Linked DNA regions of Homo sapiens: all the other regions are linked to region 3. Evidence: promoter capture Hi-C in human tissues and cell types (Jung and others, 2019). All regions are on one chromosome and are shown on one strand. The core of a region is centred on a gene start or on the middle of the fragment in contact, and the rest is flanking DNA. Distances in the headings are between cores, read along the strand shown.

Region 1 (2,916 bases), core at 126-2,625, 930 kb after region 3:
TCCTATCCTCTACTGTCAGTAGTAAGCTGGTGGAACCCTCCATGTATGAGATTTTCACTTGTCAGTTAACGGTTATGGCAATATTAAAACCAAATTCCATTTTTTGCCTATCCTAACACTTTCTACCACTCTTCAGTTAGCTTTTTATCCTCCTAGGATCTGCCACATCAGAGTACTAGAAACTGTATTAGAATTCTATGATGGCAATTCAGTGTAGTCCAGAGAAGGAGAAGAAAGATTTAAAAGAGGAATAAATAGGGAATATGGTAGTGGAAAAAACTGACTTTTTTCCCAGCGGTAATGAGGCCAGCGTTACTACCAGTGTGGAAGGTTATTTAGCATACACATTTTAAAATATGTAAGTGGTGTGTACCTGAAGTACCAACATTGTTTCTGTAGGTAAAGAACAATATTGGGCAGGGGAATAAAAAGGAGATTTAGAATAATATAAAAGGCAATGCAAAGAAATACAAAATAACACAAAAGAGAAAAAACAAAAACTCTAGGAAGCAGCGAACAGAAAAGAGGAAGGTCAATTGACTAGAGAAGATACAGAAAAGAAGAAAAGTTAATAAACAGGTGAAAAAAAAAGCAGTGGTTATATAATTAGCAAGAAGGCAGTGTAGATGATTGAAGTAGGCAAAATGAAGTTGGGGGTGGGGGGAGATGATTGAAGTAGATGAAAGAAGCAACGGCAAAATGCTGCTCTGTTGTGGCTGGCCTGTGTTTGTGAGTGCAGGGAGACAGTAAAGAGGAGCTTGCTTTCTAAAATGGAGGACCAGAAGGAACCATCCTTTCAAATTCATTTACCTTTCATTTCAGGCTCTCCTGTCTGCTGTGAGTATCCTTACCATCCTCTCCCTTTTTTTTTCCCTGACACTATCCAGAAGCATACCTAGCAATTATTCCAAAGAACCCATGTACCCGTGTACGTTTTATATAGAGTTTTCCAGAAATCCCTTAGTCTGCTGCTCAAGCAAATTTGTCAGCCCTCATATGCCGGTTTTTACTCATTATTATAGGCTGGCACTTTGAGGTTTAAATCTGTGATTTTGGTTCTTTTTCTTTGCTGAATATTTAGAATATTTTAAAAAGAAAAACATAAATTTAAACATTTTAAAGACAGTTACAGTGAAGCAGGAGTCCCCGTGTATAAGACATGTTCTTTTTTTTTTTTTTTTTCCGTTTGGAGACAGGGTCTCACTCTGTCACCCGGGTTGCAGTGCAGTGGTGCAATCTCAGCTCACTGCAGCCTCTGCCTCCTGGGCTCAAGCGATCCTCCTCACACCTCAGCTTCCCTAAAGAAGTTAGAAACTGCAGGTGCACTACACCACGCCCAACTAATTTTTGTATTTTTTGTAGACATGGGGTTTCACCATGTCACCCAGACTTGCCTTGAACTCCTGGACTCAAGTGACCCACCCACCTTGGCCTCCCAAAGTGCTGGAATTATAGGCATGAGCCACCGAGCCCGGCCATAGACATGTTCTTATAAATATAATGCATAAGTACTTAAAGGGTCCAGCATTTAAAATTGATGCTGTTAAGTTGGATATGTTAGGAAGTATGCCATTATCTTTTAAAGAGAATCAAGATTTGGAGAGCATATCCTAGACAAAAGACAAGTATAGATAGCTGTATCAATTACTTTGATATAATAAAAGTTGTGATGCAAATATAATAGATTAAAATTTAGCAGTAGTATTATCTCTAACTAGTGAAGTTTTGAAACCGTAAAAGAAAAAACCAGCCATTCTGCATCTTGAGGAAAAGTGGAAAGAGAAATTGACCTTCAACTACAATAGGAAGTATTTGATGACCATCTTGTATCATGATAGTGACCATTTACTGAGCACCCACCAAAGGCTAAGCAGTATCCTATTTTAATTAGCTAGGTGGTGGTTTTTTCATCCTACAGATAAGGAAACTGAGACACCACGATGTTGGGTAACTTGGCAGTATCACAGCTCTAAGTAGTGGCACTAATACAAAAATCATGCTAATCTTGTGCCAGAACCGTTTCTTTCTATCACATTTCACTGTATGTGCTATACTGCCTTTCATAGAAAAGTTATGAAATAGAAATGCTTTATGAAGGAAGGAGATGTGAGTTGGTGGGAATTACACGTAAATAACACTTGTAGGTAGTCTTAGATAAAGGGTAGGAAAGAAATACCTGAAAACCCATTTTAGTCCTGATTCTACGAAAACTATTATAAGAATTTGGAATGGTTTCTATAAAGTGTCATATTTAGTAAGTTTACTGAAAATTTTGTGGTGATTTTTTTTTTAAAGCTTGGACATTGAAAGGCATCAGATTTATGTTTCTCAATTCAAACTTAATCAGAATTAAAGTTTCCTTCTAAGTAGAATTATGTGGGAATTAGCTGGAAAACACAGGCACTACTAGTAAACTTTAGATTTGGGACTAACCCTTTAAAAACATGTATGGGACCAGGCGCAGTGGTTCCTGCCTGTAATCCCAGCACTTTGGGAGGCCGAGGTGGGCCAATCACTTGAGGTCAGGAGTTGAAGACCAGCCTGACCAACATGGTGAAACCCCGTTTCTACTAAAAATACAAAAAATTAGCCAGGCGTGGTGGTGGGTGCCTGTAATCCCAGCTACTCAGGAGGCTGAGGCAGAAGAATCTCTTGACCCTGGGAGGCGGAGGTTGCAGTGAGCCTGTGAGCCAAGATGGTGCCGCTGCACACCAGCCTGGGTGACAGAGGGAGACTCCATCTCAAAAAAAAAAAAAAAAAGTATGGGATTCTATGACAAAAACACACCATAAGGATCGATGGGAAATTTTTTAATTTTATGAAATATGACAGTGAAAAAAATTTAATATAATTTTATGACTTTATGCATAATGAAATAAACTAAATATTAGAAGTAGAAAAATATATAGACAAGCC
Region 2 (2,928 bases), core at 236-2,735, 760 kb before region 3:
CAGGCAGAGAGGTAGGATCTCAGTGCCCAGAAATGCCTTTGGTCCTTAGTCCTGTGAGCTGCGGGAGGGAGGAGGAGTGGAGGGGTGGCTGATGAGAAGGGTTATGTGGTCAGGAGTCAGGTATAAATCCATATAGTGTCTGGTCCTAGAAGCAGGGAGCTTTCTTCAAGGTGGTCAAAGTATGGGAAAGTTATTTTGCTGTGTAAAATGCTGTTTAATGTAAGTGGCTAGGATTTGGGGCCTGAATTCTCCACAGAGACCCAGGCTGAGGGGATTGTGGAGCCTAACAGACTGAAAGCTTTCTGGACGTTGGAATGTTTTTGGGAGGAGCCTCAATGCCACACTGCCTGCACCCCCCGCCCCCACCACCGCCAGCCTTGATGAGCATCTCTTCACGGACGTGGTTGTAGCTCCCAGAGGCACCCTGTCCAGAAGCAGAAGACTTGACCATTGGATCTTGGCTTAAAGCCAGGTATGGGGCCAAGACTGCAGCCACCACAGGATACCGAACTCGCATCTCTGGAATAGTTCAGGCAGATGGGGTTTTGCCTTTTCCTAAAATTTTGCCAAGGGGGAAGTTCCTCCTGTCCACCAATCTGAGTCCTTTCTGCTACTGTTTTCATCCCATGCCTTGTGGGGGGACGGGTGGCAGCACAGAGTGAGGTGGATCCCTCTTCTCCCACTCCTTTCTGCACTGGCTTCTCCAGGAAGCCCTGATCATGGTCTTCTGGCTTTTGCCTACCATAGGCTTGTCCGGTTTCTCCTCTGGGTCCTCTGCCCTGGTTGGGCCTTCTTCCTAGTGAACTCTTCTAGGGGTGGGGTCTTCAACCCCATCCTCCACCCCTGCCCCCGCCACGGCCAAGCCAGATTTGCAGGGGTGGGGAGGGTGAGGTGCCTTTTCTCCAGCTAGGGTCTCCCTAGAGGACACACTGAGCACTCCCAAAGCCCCAGCCAGTGGCTCCTGCCCCACCCCAGCCCCAGCATCCGTGTGCCCTTCAAGGCGCGTCTGCGGCCCCGAGCCTGAGGCCCGGCCTCCCTGCACCCTTCTTCAGCCTGCTGCCCTGACACTGCGTTCTTGCGAGACGAGGTGTCTGCGCCCTCCGGGAGCGCTGGCTGCTGTCCGGCCAAATATAGACACCACGTCCTCCCCGCCCGAAACCGAATTTGGCGGCGCGGGGGGAGGAGGCGCAGACCTCTGCCCCTCAGGGACCCCGCCCGCTCCGCTGGCTGCGGTGACGGCCGGGTGTGGGGGGCTGGGTACCTGGTCCTGAGCGGGCTGCGGGGCGCTCACGCTGCGAATCCTCTGCGGAAGGGGCCCGAGTGCGTAGGGGGCCGAGGAAGGCTTCAGGGCGAAGGAGCCACCTCTCCGGGTGTCTGTAGTATCTGGGACCCGGGTGTCCAGCTCCGCACTCTGGCCGATCCTGCGGCTCTCTAGAGCCCGGCGCCGCTGCAGCCCCAGCTGCCGCTGCCATCAACCTAAGAGGGCGGGGCTAGCATAGGGGCGGGGCCAGAGCCCAAGTTGCCCCGCCCCCTCCAGCGGCGGGAAAGTCGAGCGACCCCGACTCCCCTCCCAGCTTCCGCCGGCCTCGGAGAACCATCGAAAATAAATGTGCAGCTGTGTGCTAGGTGCGCACGCTGCTTCCCTCCCTCCATGACTCCCGGGTAGGCTGGGGAGGCTCGGGTTCGCAGACCTAGAGCAGGACGCTTGGAGAGGGAACGGGCGAGGGGGCGTGCGCCCCTAGAGCGGGCAGCCGAGGGAGACCAGGTGCCTCCACCCGCATTCCAGCCTCAATCGCGCTCCCAATTTAGCTGTCCCGATCGGCCGGGACTGCGGGACTGCACTTCCAGGCCTCCCTGGGGGAAAGAGGCCCTAGAGAATGAGGACCCAGGCTGATCCTGATGTAGGGCAAGTGAGAGGGCACCCGACACAGGGTTGTGAATGTTAGTTATTGTTATGAATGGCAATAGCGATCATTTGAGAAACCTAAAATGCTGGCTGTGTGCTAGGCATTTCACCCCATTAGATGAGATTCCATGGAGCAGGGCAGGAAGCAGCTGAAAGAACAAGGGGAGGACCGAGTGTAAAGTGAACCCACCTTGACACTCCCTCCCCTCCCAGATGCAGGGGGAAGAGGCTAGCACCGGTCTCTAGTCACATTTTAGGGGTCAGAGAAGCCAACTCAGAGGCCAGACTCCTAATGTTTTCTGGGCCTTGTTTGAATTGGCGCCCGACTGTGTTCCAGGTAAGCTTCCCCCGTCTCCCCCAATATTCACAGAACTGAATGTTGACCGAGGTCAAGGAGATTAAAGATAACCTGATCAAAATACAGCCAGTGAAGACCAGCCAGTCCCGTAGCTCCAGTCTACCCAGTGTCTGCACATTGCCTGGATTTCTTCCCTTGGATCATAAGGGCATCTGGGGCCAGTTATTACTTCCCACCCTCCAGGGCACACCTGGGAGTGAGTGAATGGAACACAGCCTTCTGAAGGGCAGGAACCAGCACTGGGGAGGAAAGGGAGGGAAGGTGGTAGAAACCATGAAGGGCCCACGAGGCTCCTTTGTTTCTCAGGAAGAGTCCAGGTGGCTTGTAGGGACAGAATCAAATCAAGAGTCAGTGGCTTGTAGGGGAACAGAATAAAAAACTGTTACGAGTGCTCCAGAAATAACTCCTGGCGTAGGGGTGCTGGGGCAGGGTATGAGGGTATGTGAGTCATCTCTCTTTTACCTAAAGATTCCAGGCACATGATTAGGAGGAAAATACCTGAGTGACTCAGTTGCTCCTTTACAACAATAACCCATGCTTATGTGCTAGGCACTGGCACTAAGGGCTTTATACGTATTAATTTCATACTCTTAACAATCCTCTAGGCTGGTCGCGGGTGGCTAACGCCTGTAATCCCAGCACTTTGGGAGGCTGAGGCAGGTGG
Region 3 (2,844 bases), core at 75-2,574:
CCATCCTCCATGGTTTCTCTCCTCCTTTCCTCCTCCTCAAGTTCAGATATTTCCCTCACCTGTACCCCCTCTGTTGTAGCATTTATCACAAACTACACTGAATCTCTTGACTGGGCAGAAGAATGAATTGTTTCCCAGCATCTAGCTTTGACATAAAAGTTGCTCAATAAATACTTGACGAATGAATGAACTCTATTAAAGTAGGGTTCAGTCATAGTTCAGGGAAGGGGCCCTGAAATAGCTGGCTCTGAAAGAAGGTAATGCCGGTTATTGCGATTATGTTGTTAGATGGGTAGAATTTCGCATTCGATTAAGGGATAGTTTTGGGTTTCTTCAAGCTAAAGAAACTAAAGCCTATAAAAGGTGATTTAAAAGACCTCTTCTCTAGACTTGATGAAACGCTGTAATTGCCATCTTTGGCTGACACTGAGGAGTTCAGGAATGCCAAGCAAGTGTTTCCAGAAATGTCAAACCTGCTGTTTTAAAATATGTCATTCCAGGGCACAGTTAAATATACAACTTGCTCCGATGAGGTGGGAGAAGTGGGCCGGTGAGCTGTGAAATGAAATCTGCCTAATGAGGGTCGAGGCCAGCACACACAGGGACCTATTTGCAGTAAAACAACGTGGGGTGACGCCTAAGAAATAGACAACATTAACACAAAGGGAGCCTACTACGTAGCACATTTCCGCTAGGCATAAAAGAGACACCTTTCCAGAAAGCAACTCTAAAAATGAATGCACCGCCTAGTGAGGTGCGAGCCTTCCTCCCCACGAGGCGTCCCGTGCAACCGCACGCGGACAGCGGGGCTCCAGCGGAGGCGGGGTGGATGCGGAGACAAGGCGCCTAGGAGACTGGGCTAAGGCTTTGAGTGTCCGAACGAAGATTCTTTCGAACCTATTGATTTTTTCTAGTCTTATGATTCTTTCGAACCTTTTGATTCTTTCCATTCTCGGTTCTAAGCATTAAAGCGCAGCTGAGAAAGGCAGCAACAAAGATGGGAAGAGAACTAGCAGGAGTTCTCAGAGAAAAATGGGTGATAATTTAGGGGAGAAGCCATAAAGAAGAGACTAAGCGAGAAGCGGAGCACACGCAGAAGACGAAACAAGGAGGAGGAGAAGAGAAGAAGAACCTTGGCGAAGGAAGAGAGTGACCAAACTCGTCCCGGACGGGAGGAGGGCAGGCCCGCCCAGAGGGAATCGGCTGCTTTAAGGGAAGCCCCGCCCCCTGGTGGTGACGCTCCACCAGGCCCGTCCGCGATTGGCTGCGGCCAGAGGGCGGGATGGGGTTGCTAGGCGAGGAGGGGATCCGGCGGGCCCCCGCCGCCCGGAGCGCTGAGCCGCGGGAGCGGAGCCGGGGTTAGCGGCGCTGCTGGAAGATGGCGAGCGGCCGGGACGAGCGGCCGCCTTGGCGGCTAGGGCGGCTCCTGTTGCTCATGTGCCTGCTGCTGCTGGGGAGCTCGGCCCGGGCGGCTCACATCAAGAAGGCGGAGGCGACTACCACAACTACGAGCGCGGGCGCCGAGGCGGCCGAGGGCCAGTTCGACCGCTACTACCACGAAGAGGAGTTGGAGTCGGCGCTGAGGGAGGCGGCGGCCGCGGGCCTCCCCGGCCTGGCCCGCCTCTTTAGCATCGGCCGCTCGGTGGAAGGCCGGCCGCTGTGGGTGCTTCGCCTCACCGCCGGCCTGGGGTCGCTAATCCCTGAGGGCGACGCGGGGCCTGACGCTGCCGGGCCCGACGCTGCGGGGCCGCTGCTGCCCGGCCGGCCCCAGGTGAAGCTGGTGGGCAACATGCATGGCGACGAGACCGTGTCGCGCCAGGTGTTGATCTACTTGGCCCGCGAGCTGGCGGCCGGCTACCGCCGCGGGGACCCGCGCCTGGTCCGCCTGCTCAACACCACCGACGTGTACCTGCTGCCCAGCCTCAACCCCGATGGCTTCGAGCGTGCCCGCGAGGGCGACTGTGGCTTCGGCGACGGCGGCCCGTCCGGGGCCAGCGGCCGCGACAATAGTCGCGGCCGCGACCTCAACCGAAGCTTTCCCGACCAGTTTAGCACCGGCGAACCCCCCGCCCTGGACGAGGTGCCCGAGGTGCGCGCCCTCATCGAGTGGATCCGCAGGAACAAGTGAGTGTTGCCTGCCCCCTCCCCGTCCGTGTGAGCCTCCAAGGGCCGAGGCTGGTTCCGGCACCCAGTAGGCGCTCAGACAATGCTGGCATAAGGGGTGGCGGTGGTGAAGGTGAAGGGAGACACCCTGTAACGGGGACAGGGCCCAGGCCGCGTAGCCTCCCGTCCTGCTAATCATCAAAGAATTGCCTCCTAGAGGCTGTCATTTGTTCAAGGGATGGCTGGAGGGGACACTCCTTTCTGACATTTCTGGTCCCTATTCTTACAGGGGCATAGAATATGAGCGAGAAGAGATCTTAAGGATAACCTAGGTCAGCTCACACATTTTATAGATAAGCTGTCAATGTTGTTATCTTATATCAAAAGTGCCTAATGTTATAGGCGCTGTGCTAATTTTTTCTGTGACTGCAGTATCTCACTTTATTTTGGCCACAACCTGATGTCATAGACACCATCAGTTTTGCATACGGGGAAATTGAGGGTCAGATTGGTTAACTGATTTACATAGGAGTGTGGCTGGGACTTAGAATTAGGCAATCTGATTCCCGATAGTCCTCTTAGCCACGGAGGGACACTGGAGCCCAAAAATGGCAGATGATATTCCCAGGATCTTCCCCTTGCCTATTTGACAGAAGCTGATTTTTCTCCAATTTTTACCTCTGACTCAGCTTAAGAAGATATGGACTTAGCTGGAGAACTTGCACAGATCTGTGAGCCGCT

What was found. Contacts are between HindIII fragments. The study calls those that stand out against the background at their distance.
Region 1: a fragment that was not itself captured here is called in contact with the fragment with the promoter of CPD in region 3 in 1 of the 25 tissues and cell types used here (dorsolateral prefrontal cortex).
Region 2: the fragment with the promoter of CORO6 here is called in contact with the fragment with the promoter of CPD in region 3 in 1 of the 25 tissues and cell types used here (dorsolateral prefrontal cortex).

The regions. Positions count from the first base shown.
Region 1 is chr17:31,309,776-31,312,691 of GRCh38, forward strand. The region is part of intron 36 of NF1 (neurofibromin 1); the gene reads left to right. The region is part of intron 1 of EVI2B (ecotropic viral integration site 2B); the gene reads right to left. Among named protein-coding and RNA genes, the nearest start is that of EVI2B, 2.8 kb to the right of the region's middle. RefSeq lists an enhancer at 1,427-1,506. The HindIII fragment of the contact is 2,821 bases long and covers 1-2,786 here.
Region 2 is chr17:29,621,427-29,624,354 of GRCh38, forward strand. CORO6 (coronin 6) reads right to left here and starts at 1,486. Exons shown (of 11, transcript NM_032854.4): 1 at 1,262-1,486; 2 at 1-58. RefSeq lists a silencer at 1,150-1,299 and an enhancer at 2,087-2,928. The HindIII fragment of the contact is 11,130 bases long and covers 1-2,928 here.
Region 3 is chr17:30,377,603-30,380,446 of GRCh38, forward strand. CPD (carboxypeptidase D) reads left to right here and starts at 1,325. Exons shown (of 21, transcript NM_001304.5): 1 at 1,325-2,124. The coding sequence starts at 1,379. RefSeq lists enhancers at 911-1,080, 1,226-2,153 and silencers at 1,131-1,370, 1,671-1,800. The HindIII fragment of the contact is 4,583 bases long and covers 1-2,844 here.